3 separate regions of the Homo sapiens genome follow, and regions 2 and 3 are each linked to region 1. Evidence: promoter capture Hi-C in 16 types of primary human blood cells and fetal thymus (Javierre and others, 2016). All regions are on one chromosome and are shown on one strand. The core of a region is centred on a gene start or on the middle of the fragment in contact, and the rest is flanking DNA. Distances in the headings are between cores, read along the strand shown. Region 1 holds the start of METRN (meteorin, glial cell differentiation regulator). Region 2 has its middle 6.0 kb from the start of CACNA1H. Region 3 overlaps LOC107984906 (a long non-coding RNA gene).

Evidence for each region. Contacts are between HindIII fragments. The CHiCAGO score rates a contact against its expected background, and 5 or more counts as called.
Region 2: a fragment that was not itself captured here is called in contact with the fragment with the promoter of METRN in region 1 in 1 of 17 cell types (naive CD4 T cells); the score reaches 5.2 in naive CD4 T cells.
Region 3: a fragment that was not itself captured here is called in contact with the fragment with the promoter of METRN in region 1 in 3 of 17 cell types (naive B cells, naive CD4 T cells and total CD8 T cells); the score reaches 6.8 in naive B cells.

Annotation. Positions count from the first base shown.
Region 1 is chr16:713,356-716,726 of GRCh38, reverse strand. METRN (meteorin, glial cell differentiation regulator) reads right to left here and starts at 1,609. Exons shown (of 4, transcript NM_024042.4): 1 at 1,334-1,609; 2 at 743-1,143. The coding sequence starts at 1,437. RefSeq lists enhancers at 1-200, 201-798, 799-1,396, 1,995-2,593 and silencers at 851-910, 1,011-1,440, 1,541-1,850. The HindIII fragment of the contact is 3,687 bases long and covers 1-2,701 here.
Region 2 is chr16:1,145,451-1,148,821 of GRCh38, reverse strand. No RefSeq gene overlaps it. Among named protein-coding and RNA genes, the nearest start is that of CACNA1H, 6.0 kb to the left of the region's middle. RefSeq lists an enhancer at 3,059-3,371. The HindIII fragment of the contact is 202 bases long and covers 1,584-1,785 here.
Region 3 is chr16:1,109,079-1,112,449 of GRCh38, reverse strand. It overlaps LOC107984906 (a long non-coding RNA gene), which reads right to left. Exons shown (of 2, transcript XR_007064936.1): 1 at 1-3,371. Among named protein-coding and RNA genes, the nearest start is that of C1QTNF8, 15 kb to the right of the region's middle. The HindIII fragment of the contact is 1,716 bases long and covers 632-2,347 here.

The DNA.
Region 1 (3,371 bases), core at 360-2,859:
CAGGCGCGTACCTCCAAGGCAGGAATGCACACAGACGTGGGCCTGGGGGCCATGCCTAGCGATCAGCTGTCCTGGGCCGCCCTCCTGCACTCCCATCTGACATATGCACCCCAGCATCTGGGACCCCTCTAGTTTCCCGGATCTGAGGTCTGAAGAGCAGCAGCCCAGCTAGGGTGATAGGAAGTGGGGGCAGAGGAAGGGTGGTCTGGGGTCCCTGGCCCAGGGCCAGGGGGCAGAATAGCGAGAGCCCATCCCTTTCAGGGTCAGGCGCCAAGCTCCAGGAGAGCCAAGCAAGAGCTGGGCCTGGTGCCCTGCAGGGAGGCGAGCGGCGTCTCCATGGTGACCGGGCTGCACACTGGACTTTTGTTGGTTGGGCTGGGGGAGGGGAGAGAGGTCACCGCTGGGCCAGGGAGCCCCGGACAGCTTTGGCCGGAGGCTTCGATTCTGTCCCCACCATCTCTTCCCCCAACCGTTCAGGGACCAGAGGCCCAGGATTGCTGGGCCCGGCCTCCCCTTCCCTCCACTCTGCCCCTGCCAGCTCTTTCCAGAGATGAATCGGGAAGGGAGGGCGGGGAGGCCATCCCTCCCCAGCAGTCCCAGGCTGTGTGGCCTGACAAGCCCATCCAACCCTTGTAGCTCACTTTTTCCTTCTGCAGTGGGGCCGACAAGGCACATTCCCGCCAAGCCCAGGCAGGGTAAGACTTCGGGACTCCCACCCTGTCCCAACCAGACCGCCACTCACCGTCTACGCCGAGACCGTGGGCCTGCGGGGGCAGCTCGGGGCGCCCGTCCTCGCGCAGCTCAAAGCGGAAGGCGGCCACGCGGCGGCTGATGTCCTGGTGCGGCGTGGCCTGCAGGAAGAGGGCCCGGCGCTCGCGGGGACCCCAGCGCACGCAGCGGCCCCCTGCCGGGCCCGGGCCCTCGGCCAGCAGCAGCTCCAGGGCGCCCCCTGCGCGCTCCGCGAAGACCTGGGCGCCCGCGAAGGGCCGCACCGGCCGCAGACAGGCGATGCCGGGCCGCGCTCTGGGATCGGGGCCGCCCAGGGTCAGGCGCAGCGCCCCAGCCGGGTACAGCCACTCAACCGCGCCCTCCGCACAGGCCAGGGCCAGCTGCCCCACGCTGCCGGGCTCCTGGGTGAGGCCGCTGGGGACAGGACGGGACGGGGCGCTGAGACGGGGGCGGGTCCCCGCCCGGCGCAGCCCCCGCTCCCTCCCGAGGCCGCCTCGCGGATGGGGAAACCGGCCCAGCGCTCTGCGCGCTCCGAGGGGCGCCTGGGGGGTCCTAGCCGCAGCGCACCCCGTCCTAAGTGCGGGGACAGCCCCCCGGACCGTACCTGCCCCTCCAGCTGCAGCGCTCCTCGGAGTAGCCGGCGCGGGCAGCCGGGGCCAGGAGGCCGCAGCACAGCGCGCAGAGCAGCGCCGCGGCCGGGAACCCCATGGCACGGCGGGCGGCGTCCGGGGAGTCGGGGCTCTCACCACCGCTGCCCCGGCGGGGCGCGGGTCCGGGCGGCGGCGGGAGCAGCCGGGGGCGCCGGCCGCCCGGCCCCGGCGAAGCCCCCAAGCCCGCGGCCGCTCCGCCTGCCGCGCAGCCCCAGCGCCGGGGCCGCCTTGGAGCGGGTCGGGAAGGGGGCGGGGCCTGCGGCGTGTCGGCCAGTCGCGGCGCGGCCCGGAACTTTCCGCCAATAGCAGGCGCGGGGCGGAGCGGGGGCGGGGCCGGAGCTCGGGCGCCGCCGGAGGACTATCCCACGGTCCAAGCGCCTCGAGGGTTGGGGGGGGCCTTGGCGCGGAAGGGAGGCTCCTTGCCCGCCCCGCGCTGTGCGTCTCTCCTTCGCCGCGCCCTCACCCTGGCCTCGCCCCCCGCGCTGTCCCGATCGGAGTCCTGGAGCCTCTGATGGAGCCGAGGTTTTGATGTCCACTGGAACCTCGGGGTGGCGGTAGGGAAGGTGGCCCACCTGGTGGTTCCGCCTCGCGGGCGGCCGGGCCTGCTCCTTCCTAACACTGGGACCTGGGCCTGTTGGCCACATCCCTCCCAACCAGGTCCGGTCCTGCTGACCAGAGGCCGGTGGAGCCCCAGAGGAGAGGGGTCATGACTCCAGAGGCGGGGAAGGCCTGGCCTGGGGGCTGCGCCTTGGAGCGGGGCCAGGCCTCGGGTTTTGGTAAGGCCGTCTGCAGGAGGGGGTCCTGCTGAAGAGCGCGCAGCCCGCAGGCTTAGGCCCCTTTCCTCAGACCTAGCGGCACCCCATAGTTGCCGGATGACCGACCCCGGGCCAGACGGGGCTCCTGGAGGGGCGTGAATGGAGCAGCCACGGGCACCCCTGCAGGCCTGCAGCACGTGGAGACACAGGAGCTGGGAGGACACCCCTGGGCCACAGGAGCAGCCCCCACCAAGATGAAACAAGCAGAAACAGGCGATTCGCAAACACACTGTAGCCTCAGGCTGGAGCAGTGTGGGATTCCCAGCATCCGGGACTGCTGAGTTGGCCTGATGGGAGGAAGTGGGCAGTGGCTGGCCAGGTGGACAGGAAGAGAATGGGGGAGAGCAGACAGCCTGGGTCAAGGGCCTGAGGAAGGAGCTCTTGGCAGCCCAGTGAAACCCCAGGGCATGGGTGGTGGGTGGGGACGACAGGTCAGATCACAGAAGGCCTAAGGCACAAGCAAAGGGGTCCCACTACATACTGAACCCCTTACGGACGACAGAAGCTTTAGCCGGGGACTGCAAGGACCAGCATAGACTGTGCAGCCTGAAGATGTGAACATTCCGTCCCCTGCCCCCAAACCTCCTGCCACCCGGCGCTCGAAACTCATGGTGGACAGATGAGTTCACCAGTGGCAGTCGGACAGATGAGGCCAGATGGCTCAGTGGCAGTGGGAGGCTGGATCCCACTGACCAGGCCCTCCCTCAACCCCAGGGCCCTCCCAGGCCAAACAGGAACAAGGCGCCTACTGGGCTCGGCCAGCCCCTTGCTCTGGGCGAGGTGCAGGTCAGAAGTAGCCATCACAATCCCCAAAAGGTGGAAGACTCCCAAAGGCCTGTCTGCAGCTGAGTGGACAAGCAAGTGCAGTGGGTCCATTTTTTTTTTTTTTTTTGAGACGGAATCTCGTTCTGTCGCCCAGGCTGGAGTGCAGTGGCTCGATCTCGGCTCACTGCAACCTCTGCCTCCTGGGTTCATGCCATTCTCCTGCCTCAGCCTCCCGAGCAGCTGAGACTACAGGCGCCCGCCACCACACCCGGCTAAATTTTTGTATTTTTTCTTTTTTTAGTAGAGAGGGTGTTTCACCGTGTTAGCCAGGATGGTCTCGATCTCCTGACCTCGTGATCTGCCCGCCTTGGCCTCCCAAAGTGCTGGGATTACAGATGTGAGCCACCGCGCC
Region 2 (3,371 bases), core at 435-2,934, 430 kb before region 1:
GGGGAGCCTGGTGGCTGCCGGCTGGCGCGCACCCCAAGCCCTTTCCTGGGCTCAGCTGTGAGCTCAGGACGGTTTAGACGCAGCAGCAATGATTTTAAGAGTTGCCGTGTTAAACGGTGATAGCCTGTGACGGTGCTGTGTGCGGAAACATCCGATTTTATTGCCGCTGGGTGGACAGCGCCGTCTAGACGCCGCTCACCCTTCTCACCTTCGCAGTTGTCTGTGTGGAAGACGGGAGAGGCAGGGGCACCACGCCACTGTCCCCAAGACCGGCCCCCAGGCACTGCGCGGAAGAGGCCGTGGCCTGTGAGGTGGCCCTTCCCTGCCCTGGACAGGCTGTGGAGGGGCTGCAGGCGGAGGCTGGGCTTGGGAGTGCTTGAAGGATCACTGGGCTGTGGAGGGGCCCGCAGGCCGCCTGGGGACCTGGGGAGGGAAGCTCCGGGCCTTTCTCTGGCTCTGCAGACGCACGGCCTGGGTTCAAATGCCAGCTCCACCACTTCCTGGCTGTGTGGCCTTGGACATGTGTCTTACCCTCTCTGAGCCTTAAATTTCCTTCTCTGGAAAATCAATGCTTCATCAAATAAAAAGTGATCATGAACAGGCAGTTCCTCAAATGATTAAATATGGAATTACCATGCAACCTGGCAATTTCTGTTCCGGGTGTGCCCAAGAGGAATGAAAATGTGTGTCCACACAGAACTGTGGACTCGGGTGTCCACAGCAGCATCGTTCACAAAAGCCAAAGGTGTAGACATCCCAAGTATCCCACAGATAAGCAGATAAAATGTGGCCTCTTCATATGGTGGAATATTATTCAGCCATGAAAAGGAATGACACAGCCGGGCGCGGTGGCTCACACCTGTAATCCCAGCACTTTGGGAGGCTGAGGCAGGCAGATCAGGAGGTTGGGAGTTTGAGACCGGCCTGATCAACATGATCAACACGGAGAAACTCTGTCTCTACTAAAAATACAAAAATTAGCCGGGCATGGTGGTGGGCGCCTGTAGTCCCAGCTACTCAGAAGGTTGAGGCAGGAGAATCGCTTGAACCCGGGAGGTGGGGCTTGCAGTGAGTAGAGATCACGCCGTTGCGCTCCAGCCTGGGCAACAGAGCAACATTCTGTCTCAAAAAAAATGACATTCTGACACACGTGGATGAACATTGAAGACATCACACCAAGTGAAATAAGCCAGACACAAAATGACAAACATCATAGGATCATTAGATGAGATTTTCAGCACAGGTAAATCCATAGAACAAAGAGGGGTGGCTGCCAAGGGCTGGGGGAGGGGGGGTGGGGGAGGGGAGACGTCTAGCAAGCAGAGGGTTTGTTTGGTTTGGATGTGTGGCCCCCCCTCCAAATCTCATGTTGAAACGTGACTTCCAGGGTTGGAAGTGGGCCTGGTGGGAGGTGTCTGCACCAGGGGCGGATTCCTCAGGAGTGGCTTGCTGCTGTCCAGTGATGATGAGTGCTTTCTTGCTCCAGTAGTTCACACAGCAGCTGGCACCTCCTCCTCTCCCTGGCACCCTCTCCCTCCATGTGACTTTTGGGTTCTCCTTCCTTTCTGCCATGATTGGAAGCTTCCTGAGGCCTCCCCAGAAGCAGATACCTGCGCTGTACTTCCTATACAGCCTGTAGGACCGTGAGCCAAATCAACTTCTTTTCTTTAGAGATCACCCAGTCCCAAGCATTCCTTTACAACAACACGAAACAGACTAACACAGAAAGGGGTTTATTTTAGGGCGGTGACAGTTGACACCACCATAAAAGCTGCAATCCAAGCTTTTATGGGGGCCAGGCAGGAAGATCATTTGAGCCCAAGAATTTGAGACCAGCCTGGGCAACATACTGAGACCCAACCCCGTCTCTACAAAAAAAAAAAAAAAAAAAATGAAATAAAATTAGCCAGGTGTGGTGGTGGTGCCTGTGATCTCAGCTACTCGAGAGGCTGAGGTAGGAGGATCACTTGACTCTGAGGGGTCGAGGCTGCAGTGAGTGGAGATTGTGCCACTGCACTCCAGCCTGGGCGACAGAGCGAGACCTGCAGAGACGGCTGCACCGCTGGGTGCACTGAAAACTCACCCATAAGTGGGTGAGCCGTCCGTCCGTGTGTGAGCTCCGCCTCAGGCTGTGAAAGCAGTCATGAAGGATGGGAGCCCGCACGTGACAAAGGCTCAGAAAGAGGGAGGCCATTTTTAACAGCTCCCTGTGGGGGCGGAGCCAGAGGGCGTGGCCTCATGGGAGGAGACAGAACCCAGGATGGAGCTGGGCTGGGGGAGCAGAGCCTTCAGCCTGTCCCTTGGGGTCCGCAGGATCTCGGAGGCCCTAGGGGTGGGGCTGCCTCTGGCCTGGGCCAAGGCCTTGAGGCCGGGGTGGACACGTCTGGTTCAGTCTCCTGGACCCAAATGTGTCAGGGAAGCCTCCTCCGAGGGCATGGGGGGCAGGGAGCTGAGTCTGGGGTGTGTGGGGGTGGGCAGAGGGCACGTGCCTGGCAGCACCCAACTCTGCCTGAGCTGCTGAATCCCCCGGATCACTGTGGAGTGGGAAGGAGGAGGGGTTGACCTGGGAGGGAAAGTGACAGGATGGGGTGAGCCCAGGCCGGGTGCTTCCAGACAGACTTCAAGGGGCCGTGGAAGGCGCAAAGCAGACATGGGTGCCCCTCTCCCCTGCTTGGTTCCCTCACCAGCCCCCAGCTCTGCACAGCCCCTCTGCTTGCAGGAAGGGCTGAGCTGGTGCAGAGTCACGGGGTCCTTTCTTAGGGAGTCCTCAAGAGGTAATGCAGCAGGTCCCCCAGATCCCAGGTCTGGCCACCAGACCACCCTCAACACCCCCACCTCGCCCTACCCCAGCCCAGGCCCAGCCCCGGGAGCTCCAAGGAGATCCACACAAGAGGAGCCCCTGAAACGTGGGTCTGCAGGCAGCCCCGGGTCCGTCACCCCTCCAACCCTCAGGTGCCGGGTGCCCCAGCTCTCGGCTCGGCCAGGCGAGGCCCTTGGAACCACAGATGACCACGCGTGGGCCTAGAGTGTGTGTTTTTGGGGGAATTTCACCCGGGGGCTCCTCAGAGAAGGTGCCAGGCCGCCCAGGGACATCTGAGGAACCAGCTGAGCCAGACCCGGGGCGGGGGCCTGTGCGGAGGGGCCGGGGTCAGGCACGGGGGGCGGCCCCCACACCGCAGCTTGCGTCACCTGGGAGAACTGGACAGGAGCCAGCTACGATCCCCAGGTGGCCAGTGGAGGGGCCGGCCCCGCACGCAGTGGCTGCAGAGAGAGGCTTGGCCCCAGCTGTGCAGCCAGGCACTCTGACTCCTGCTCCTTTTGTACTCACCCGGGAGGTTTTTCATCTTTACGGTTAACTGAGTTAAGTCGTC
Region 3 (3,371 bases), core at 240-2,739, 400 kb before region 1:
TCGTGGCGCCGCGTTTGTCTCCTCAGCAGTGGTTTGCATTCAGCCCGGCCTCCCTGACCCGAGCTGCTCCCACTGTGGCCGGGTGGGCGGTGGGCACCTGGGGCCTGCCGGGGGTGACACTGTCCCAGGAATCCCCCACCAGCTTGGAGTGTCTCTGATGAAGACCCAGGCGGGGCCTCCGCTGGTGCTGCTCCCTCCCCAGGACGACCGAGCCTTTCCCAACTGCCAGGCCTCTGGCCAGCTTCTGGGGGTCCATTCCAGGCCCAGCCTCTCTGCTGCTGGATGCCGGCAGCCTCTGGCTGTCTCGGGCATCGGCTGCAACGGTGTCCCTCCTGTCGCTGCATCCTGACAAGCAGCTGCTTGAACTCCTCCAGGGTCGGAGGGCTCACTCCCTGCGGGATGCACAGCCTTCAGCCCATCGCTGTGTAACTAGAGTGCCTGGTGGCCGCATACCCCACCTCCTGGCACAAGCCGTGCCTCCCGTAGGCCTCTCTGCTCTTGGGGTCTAGACCTCCCTGGGACTGCGCCTGACCCGTGGGGGGACACACAGCCTCTTTCCACTGTTTTCCAATGATAATTTCACTGCGATGTAGCTTGGTACAAATGCCTTTTTCCTTGTATTTAAAAAGCTTCCCCCTCATTTGCAGTCATTTCCTAGGGCTGTGTTCAAAGGCTAGAGTTGCCCACTCAGGTGTGGGAACGGGTTACGTCTCTGGAGCGCGCACTACAGTTTTTTCTAGAAAGCAGGACCGGCCGGGCACGGTGGCTCATGCCTGTCATCCCAGCACTTTGTAAGGCCAAGGTGGGTGGATCATGAGGTCAGGAGTCCAAGACCAACCTGGCCAAGATGGTGAAACCCCGTCTCTACTAAAAATACAAAAGAATTAGCCAGGTGTGGTGGTGGGTGCCTGTAATCTCAGCTACTCAGGAGACTGAAACAGAGAATTGCTTGAACCTGGGAGGTGGAGGCTGAAGTGAGCCGAGATCATGTCACTGCACTCCAGCCTGGGTGACAGAGCAAGACTCCGTCTCAAAAAAAAAAAAAAAGACACCAGGAAGGCGGAGCTTGCCCTCTCACGTTGCCAGGGGTCCATTCCCATGTTTTGAAAGTCACGGTCTTTAAGGCTTTTCAGGTGGGTTTTAGCAGGATTTTAAAAATAATTGGCCCAGTGTAGTGGCTCACGACTGTAATCCCAGAACTTCAGGAGGCCAAGGTGGGTGGATCTCTTGAGCTCAGAAGTCTGAGACCACCCTGGGCAACCCTGTCTCTGCAAAATATATAAAAATTAGCTGAGTGCGGTGGCAGGTGCCTGTAGTTCCAGCTACTTGGGAGGCTGAGATGGGAGACTCGCCTGAGACTATGAGTTTGAGGCTGCAGTGAGCCGCCATTGCACCAGTGTGCTCCAGCCTGGGCCACAGAGTGAGACCCTGTCTCAAAAAAATAATAATGATATACCCAAATGGGTTGAAAACGGGTCTTCAGACAAAAACGTGCACAGACATGATTACCAGAGTGCAGCTCACAGTCTCCACAGTGCAAACACAACTCAGCCAGGAGAGGGGACCGGCCTCAAGTCACCACATCAGGGCGGAGCGGGACACAGAGGACCACATGCTTGAGACTCCTCTTCCACACTGTGCTCAGAGCAGTGAGTTGCGGTTCCCAGCATCTGGGGAGATGGGAGTAACCACGCATGGGCTGAGGGCTTCCTTTTGGGGATGGCAACGAAAGATTCTGGAACCAGATGGCAGCGATGGTTGCACAGTGCTACGAATGTGCCAGACGCCACCACACTGCACGCTTTACGGCAGTTAAAACGGTGAGGTTTCTGTTACGTGATTTACACCAGAATAAAACCATAGCGGTGGCCGCGAGCGGGGGCTCACGCCTGGAATCCCAGCATTCTGGGAGGCTGAACGGGTGGATCATGAGATCCGGAGATCGAGACTAGCCTGGCCAACATGGTGAAACCCTGTCTCTACTAAAAATACAAAAATTAGCCAGGCGTGATGGTGGGCGCCTATAGTCCCAGCTTCTCAGGAGGCCGAGGCAGGAGAATTGTTTGAACCCAGGAAGCGGAGATTGAAGTGAGCTGAGATCACACCACTACACTCCAGCCTGGGCGACAGCACAAGACTCCATCTCAGAAAAAAACAAAACCAAAAAACAAAAAAACAGTGATGATAGTGACGATGATAACAAATGCTTCTCAGGCACCTGCCGCCTGTCGGGCACTGTTCTGTGTCTACCTTCACTCCCAGGCCATGCCCTCACTGTCACTGACTTATGGATGGAAGGCCCAGGCACTGCAGGCAGCTGGCACAGCTGAGGTAGGAAAGTCAAGCTTCCCTGCGTGCTGGCGGGTGGGCGTGGGCTGCAGCAGAACCTGCCTGGGCCTCAGCCCCCTGCCCCTGTTCCCCTGCCCTTTCCTCTCTGTCCCACTCCGTTCCACCAGGCAGAAGTTTCTTCGTGAAGTCACTTTCATATCTATGAGACCATCCATCTTGCTTCCAACGATTCCTCCAATCCCTTCAACACTCAGACATTTATCTTCCCGCTGCAGTCGGGATCTGCAGTCAGGATCAGCGTGTGATCTCATCTCACCCTGGAGTTTTATGGCTCCCTCTGAACGTGGTTTAACTCGGCCGTATCTGGAAGGCCGGTTCCGGGTGGGTGGTGAAGGTGAATGGGACGGCGTCGGGCTTGTCCCCGCGGCCTGGGACTTCCCCAGGTAGGGAGCCAGCATAGCCCCGGGGGGACCTCGGATGGGGAGCCTGTGGGACCGTCACCCTACCTGGCCCTGCGTGCCCAGCCTCCTCTCCCTCCACCAAGCACGCCCAGGACTTTCCCTGGAGGAAACTGCACACCTTCCTGCTTCACCCGCAAACACCCAGGAGGGAGGAACTGTCCTGGTCTCCATTCTGCAGCGGGCAGCTCAGGGCACAGTCTGTGACAGCTCTGGGCCCTGCATGCAGCCTCAGAGGCTGGGGTCTGGACCCCGCCCATACCATGGACCTCAGAGACTCCACTTAGCAGCTCCAGACCACGGTGGGTGGGGGCGTCTTGGGTGCTGGGCCAGGATGCCAACTGCTGTTGAAGGCCAGCAAAGGGCCCTGAGTCCTGGAGAGGCACACAGCTGCCTGCACCGCCCCCCAGCCCCCGGCCTTCAGGCAGGTAAACTGAGTCACACGTGCAGTGTCAGAGCCTTGCCTCCCTAGGCCAAGGGTAGACGGAAAAGCGTCCGTGGTCGTGGGTCCCCAGCTCTGCCCACTGCCTGGGAGGACAGGATGAGAGCTGAGCAGGAGTGAGCCGTCAGCCTCTGTCGGCCGCCCCGCCCTCCGCCCAGTTTGCCAAGCGCAGAGAACTGGGC